Linked DNA regions of Homo sapiens: region 1 is linked to region 2. The links are contacts of gene promoters, found by promoter capture Hi-C in blood cells and fetal thymus (Javierre and others, 2016). All regions are on one chromosome and are shown on one strand. The core of a region is centred on a gene start or on the middle of the fragment in contact, and the rest is flanking DNA. Distances in the headings are between cores, read along the strand shown. Region 1 overlaps LINC02210-CRHR1 (LINC02210-CRHR1 readthrough). Region 2 holds the start of MAPT (microtubule associated protein tau).

Region 1 (2,700 bases), core at 69-2,568, 260 kb before region 2:
GTTGCCCAGGCTGGAGTGCAATGGTGCGATCTCGGCTCACTGCAACCTCTGCCTCCCAGGTTCAAGCGATTCTCCTGCTTCAGCCTCCCGAGTAGCTGGGATTACAGGCGTGTGCCACCACGCCCAGCTAATTTTGTATTTTTAGTAGAGATGGGGTTTCTCCATGTTGGTCAGGCTGGTCTTGAACTCCCGACCTCAGGTGATCCACCCGCCTCGGCCTCCCAAAGTGCTGGGATTACAGGCATGAGCCACTGCGCCCGGCTGTAAATATGCTTTTTGTAGGTTCTCTTAGTTCAGATGTAGGACCAGTCTGATGTTAGGTTCTTAGGTAAGGACCTATATAAAGATAGTATAAAATGGTACCTAATATTACAAAGCTTTTTTAGGAATGGCAAAGGGATAATATGGCAGCTTCCTCCCTGTCAGTTCTGCATTGGTGACTAAGGATCTCAAATTTCTGGATAATCTGGCTTGCTTAGTTACGACGAGAGACCAGAACTTGCTGATAGCATATGAAATCTTCGGGGGAGTTTTGAATGTTTTTCATTTTTTAATCTGATATGATGTAGCAGACATGACATTGACTCACATGCAAGCCCCAAACATGCCGAAGCTGCGGGAGCTCTCTATCAGCCATAGTAGGCTGCTCTGTTGCCGTTGGTTCAGGCAGCTGTTGAGTGGGCCTGGGAGGCACGGAGGGAAAGGGAAGAGGGCCGGCACTGGTTTACTCTCCTAGACATAGTCGTGAAATCTCATGGTCAAAGGAAACCAAGAAGTCATCTTATCCTGCTACTATTTTCCTTCCAGGGTCTCTTCTGCAGGGTCCCCATGAATTGTGGCTGAAGTTGTGCACAAACAAGTATCTCCAGTGACAGGAGTGCCTTCTGAGGCAGCCATTGCATCTTCATCTGCTGACACTCTGCTAGGCTGACTTCTGTAGTTTTCACCACTGATCTTCAGTCCACCTCACAGAGCTCTATAAAACGCTTAAATCCTCTTTACATCATAGACTTTCAGCTACTTGAAGATAGCCATCAGCCGCTACGTGACTCTTTTCTCCAGGTAAAATCTCCAATTATAGCAGCTGTTCTTCATATGGCCTAGTGTCTAATGCCTTTGCTCTCCTGATCATTTTTTGAATTTTTTCAGTTTGCCCCGGTCTCAGAGTGTGGGATCCAGCACTGCCCATATAACGTTCCCAGGATGTTCTGACTGATGTAGAGTAAGCCTGGTATCACCCATGTCCTAGGAACTGAGACCCCGTCACTACTGGTGATGCAGCCTAGGATCAAACTGTTCTTTTGGCAGCCACTTCACATTTTTGTGTTAAGGGCTTACTCTTAGCCAAACACAAATTTTGTTTTGTTTTGTTTTTTGTTTTTTCCGAGACAGGTTCTCACTCTGTCACCTAAGCTGGAGTGCAGTGGCACCATCTCAGCTCACTGCAACTGCTGCCTCCCGGGTTCAAGCAATTCTTTTACCTCAGCCCCCCCAGTAGCTGGGATCACAGGTACGCGTCACCACGCCTGGCTAATTTTTGTATTTTTAGTAGAGATGGGGTTTTGCCAAGTTGGCCTGGCTGGTTTCGAACCCCTGACCTCAAGTCATCTGCCCACCTTGGCTTCCTGAAGTGCTGGGATTACAGGCCTGAGCCACCACACCTGGCTGACAGATTGTTGTTATCATTAATGTCACATGAACTACTGCCAAAGGCGTCTCCCCTTCTTGTGCTTGGAGGGTGTGTTGGATGCCACCTGTGCCCCTCCCTGGAGATGCTTTTGGCCCCACAGCTTCCTCCAGCCAATGTAGCAGTGACTGGGTCTGTGCAGGTTTTGGTCACCTTCACTCAGGTGTGATGGGGTGGTGCCTTTCTTTGGCCTGCCCCAGGTATCTTTTACTTTTTGGGATGTATTTGATGCTATAGTATGGAATGCTGCAGAGACTTCCGGCACCAACCCCCTGGAGTTGGACTTTATTTCACAGGTTGAGGGCACCATCCTCCACAAGAATCCCCAACTTCAGCCACCAGCTGGCAACAGGTTTGGGGGTCCTCAGCCCACCCTCACTTCTGGCCAGATGGCTACAAATTTGGCGATTTCCACTACCCCCTCAGGTTTGATCACTTGTCAGAATGATTCACAGAATTCAGGGACATGCTATGCTTACAACTACAGTTTTATTAATTGATCAATAAAGCAAAAGGATATAAATGAACCAGTCAAAGGGAAAGACACATAGATCTGGGAGGACACCAAACGCAAAGCTTTCATTGTTCTCTCCCCGTGGAGTCAGGGGCTGTTACCTTTCCAGCACATCGATGCGTGACAATGTATAGAGTATTGCCAACCAGGGACGTGCTCCTGAGCTTCAGTATTTGTCATTTTTATTGGGGCTTCCTTGCATAGGTACGATTGATTGAATCATTGGCCATGTGACTCAAACTTTAGCACCCTCATTTCCCCAGAGGTGATCTTGTTAGCATCCACTATCTAGGGGCCCACTCTGAGTCACCTTGTTAGCATCAACTTAGAGGTGTGGGCCCGCTATGATAACAAAGATACTGCTGATCGGGCGCGGTGGCTCACGCCTGTAATCCCAGCACTTTGGGAGGCCGAGGCGGGCGGATCACAAGGTCAGGAGATCGAAACCATCCTGGCTAACATGGTGAAACCTTGTCTCTACTGAAAATACAAAAAATTA
Region 2 (3,072 bases), core at 258-2,757:
GTTAGCCAGGTGTGGTGGTGCCCACCTGTAGTCCCAGCAACTCAGAAGGCTGAGGTGGGAAGATTGCTTGAGCCCCAGGAGTTCAAGCTTGCCGTGAGCTACGATTGTGCCACTGCACTCCAGCCTGAGCAAGACCTTGTCTCCAAAAAAAGGTCAATTCCACTGACTTTTCTAAGGTGTACACCATCAAGGGGCAGCTCCATCTCCAGGCCATTGGCTCATGAGACATTCTGTAGTCAGAAGGCTAGGGCAGATTGCTTTGAGCAAGCCCCCATGGTGGTTCTCACTCCTACTTCTTTGGGTATATGCCCCTCTGTTTAAAAATAAAGTTAATATGCATTTAAAAAAAAAAAGGAGAAAAAGGTCAGTTCCAGAAACTGTGTGAATAAAGCATTTTACTTGCTTTTTCTATTAATCTATAACATATGTTGATTTTTTAAAAAGAATATAAGAGCTATGCAAATTGGAGCTTCAAGACAACTTCCCATCTCCCTAGGAGGAGATGGCTGCCCTAAACCCCCCTACATAGAAATCATCCCACTGCTTGGGCTTAAACTTGATGTTGGGGAAATGAAAAATCCAAGCTAAGGCCGAAGCCTGGGGCCTGGGCGACCAGCAGAATGAGGACCACTGGTCAGTTTCAGGCTGAGGTGCGTCTTCCAGGGGACAATCTCTAGCTGGCCCTTAAACATTCAGACTTCAAGCTCTATTTACAGCATAAAGGTGTTTCAAAAGACGTGATACAAATAACTGCAAATGCTCTGCGATGTGTTAAGCACTGTTTGAAATTCGTCTAATTTAAGATTTTTTTTTCTGACGTAACGGTTAGATTCACGTTTCTTTTTTTTTAAGTACAGTTCTACTGTATTGTAACTGAGTTAGCTTGCTTTAAGCCGATTTGTTAAGGAAAGGATTCACCTTGGTCAGTAACAAAAAAGGTGGGAAAAAAGCAAGGAGAAAGGAAGCAGCCTGGGGGAAAGAGACCTTAGCCAGGGGGGCGGTTTCGGGACTACGAAGGGTCGGGGCGGACGGACTCGAGGGCCGGCCACGTGGAAGGCCGCTCAGGACTTCTGTAGGAGAGGACACCGCCCCAGGCTGACTGAAAGTAAAGGGCAGCGGACCCAGCGGCGGAGCCACTGGCCTTGCCCCGACCCCGCATGGCCCGAAGGAGGACACCCACCCCCGCAACGACACAAAGACTCCAACTACAGGAGGTGGAGAAAGCGCGTGCGCCACGGAACGCGCGTGCGCGCTGCGGTCAGCGCCGCGGCCTGAGGCGTAGCGGGAGGGGGACCGCGAAAGGGCAGCGCCGAGAGGAACGAGCCGGGAGACGCCGGACGGCCGAGCGGCAGGGCGCTCGCGCGCGCCCACTAGTGGCCGGAGGAGAAGGCTCCCGCGGAGGCCGCGCTGCCCGCCCCCTCCCCTGGGGAGGCTCGCGTTCCCGCTGCTCGCGCCTGCGCCGCCCGCCGGCCTCAGGAACGCGCCCTCTTCGCCGGCGCGCGCCCTCGCAGTCACCGCCACCCACCAGCTCCGGCACCAACAGCAGCGCCGCTGCCACCGCCCACCTTCTGCCGCCGCCACCACAGCCACCTTCTCCTCCTCCGCTGTCCTCTCCCGTCCTCGCCTCTGTCGACTATCAGGTAAGCGCCGCGGCTCCGAAATCTGCCTCGCCGTCCGCCTCTGTGCACCCCTGCGCCGCCGCCCCTCGCCCTCCCTCTCCGCAGACTGGGGCTTCGTGCGCCGGGCATCGGTCGGGGCCACCGCAGGGCCCCTCCCTGCCTCCCCTGCTCGGGGGCTGGGGCCAGGGCGGCCTGGAAAGGGACCTGAGCAAGGGATGCACGCACGCGTGAGTGCGCGCGTGTGTGTGTGCTGGAGGGTCTTCACCACCAGATTCGCGCAGACCCCAGGTGGAGGCTGTGCCGGCAGGGTGGGGCGCGGCGGCGGTGACTTGGGGGAGGGGGCTGCCCTTCACTCTCGACTGCAGCCTTTTGCCGCAATGGGCGTGTGTGTGTGTGTGTGTGTGTGTGTGTGTGTGTGTGTGTGTGGAGGGGTCCGATAACGACCCCCGAAACCGAATCTGAAATCCGCTGTCCCTGCCGCTGTTCGCCATCAGCTCTAAGAAAGACGTGGATCGGGTTCTAGAAAAGATGACTCCCTGCACGCCCCTCCCTGCACCTCCCGAGCAGTGATTCCGACAGGGCCTTCACTGCCCCTGATTTTAGGCGGGGGCCGGCCCCCTCCCCTTTTCCTCCTTCAGAAACCCGTAGGGGACATTTGGGGGCTGGGAGAAATCGAGGAGATGGGGAGGGGTCCACGCGCTGTCACTTTAGTTGCCCTTCCCCCTGCGCACGCCTGGCACAGAGACGCGAGCAGCGCCGTGCCTGAGAACAGTGCGCGGATCCCACTGTGCACGCTCGCAAAGGCAGGGTTCACCTGGCCTGGCGATGTGGACGGACTCGGCGGCCGCTGGTCCCCGTTCGCGGGCACGCACAGCCGCAGCCACGCACGGATGGGCGCGGGGCTGCAGGTGCATCTCGGGGCGGATTTCTTTCTCAGCGCTCGGAGCGCAGGGCGCCCGGCGTGTGCGCTCCCTGCCGGAGGCGCGGGGCTGGCGCGCAGGGCTCGCCCCTCACTGCGGCAGTGGGTGTGGACCCTGGTGGGCGAGGAAGGGGGAGGATAGGCTGTGCCTCCTCCCACTCCCGCCCCCAGCCCCCCTTTTTTTCCCCCTCGGAACGCGAGGTGCCATCTTTTTTCGGCGTGTCACGTCTTTACGGTGCCATGCCAAACCGGGTGGCCGGGCTTCATAGGACAGGGCGGGGCCTGGCATTAAAGGGAGGGGGACAATCAGCGCTGAAATCTTGGCGTTTTGCTGCTGCGGGCGTGAGCACTGGGGGCGTTCGCCCAGCACCTTCTTCGGGGGCTCTTTGCTTTGTCTGTAGAGGTTACGTGATCTGCGCTCCCAGCCCTGGTTTCTGGCTTTTATTCTGAGGGTGTTCAGTCAACCTCCCCCCTACGCCCATGCGCCTCTCTTTCCTTTTTCGCTCCTCATTTCCGAGCCCATTGTTGGATCTC

What was found. Contacts are between HindIII fragments. The CHiCAGO score rates a contact against its expected background, and 5 or more counts as called.
Region 1: a contact is called between a fragment that was not itself captured here and the fragment with the promoter of MAPT in region 2, in 4 of 17 cell types (M1 macrophages, endothelial precursors, megakaryocytes and 1 more). The highest score is 6.6, in M1 macrophages.

Annotation. Positions count from the first base shown.
Region 1 is chr17:45,629,097-45,631,796 of GRCh38, forward strand. LINC02210-CRHR1 (LINC02210-CRHR1 readthrough) reads left to right here. Exons shown (of 15, transcript NM_001256299.3): 3 at 808-1,062. It overlaps LINC02210 (long intergenic non-protein coding RNA 2210), which reads left to right. Exons shown (of 6, transcript NR_138260.1): 3 at 808-1,062; 4 at 1,150-1,222; 5 at 1,393-1,510. Among named protein-coding and RNA genes, the nearest start is that of LINC02210-CRHR1, 10 kb to the left of the region's middle. The HindIII fragment of the contact is 1,886 bases long and covers 376-2,261 here.
Region 2 is chr17:45,893,047-45,896,118 of GRCh38, forward strand. MAPT (microtubule associated protein tau) reads left to right here and starts at 1,508. Exons shown (of 13, transcript NM_001377265.1): 1 at 1,508-1,640. It overlaps MAPT-AS1 (MAPT antisense RNA 1), which reads right to left and starts at 2,467. Exons shown (of 2, transcript NR_024559.1): 1 at 2,434-2,467. It overlaps MAPT-IT1 (MAPT intronic transcript 1), which reads left to right and starts at 2,737. Exons shown (of 1, transcript NR_024560.1): 1 at 2,737-3,072. RefSeq lists enhancers at 1,451-2,336, 2,337-3,072. The HindIII fragment of the contact is 3,093 bases long and covers 86-3,072 here.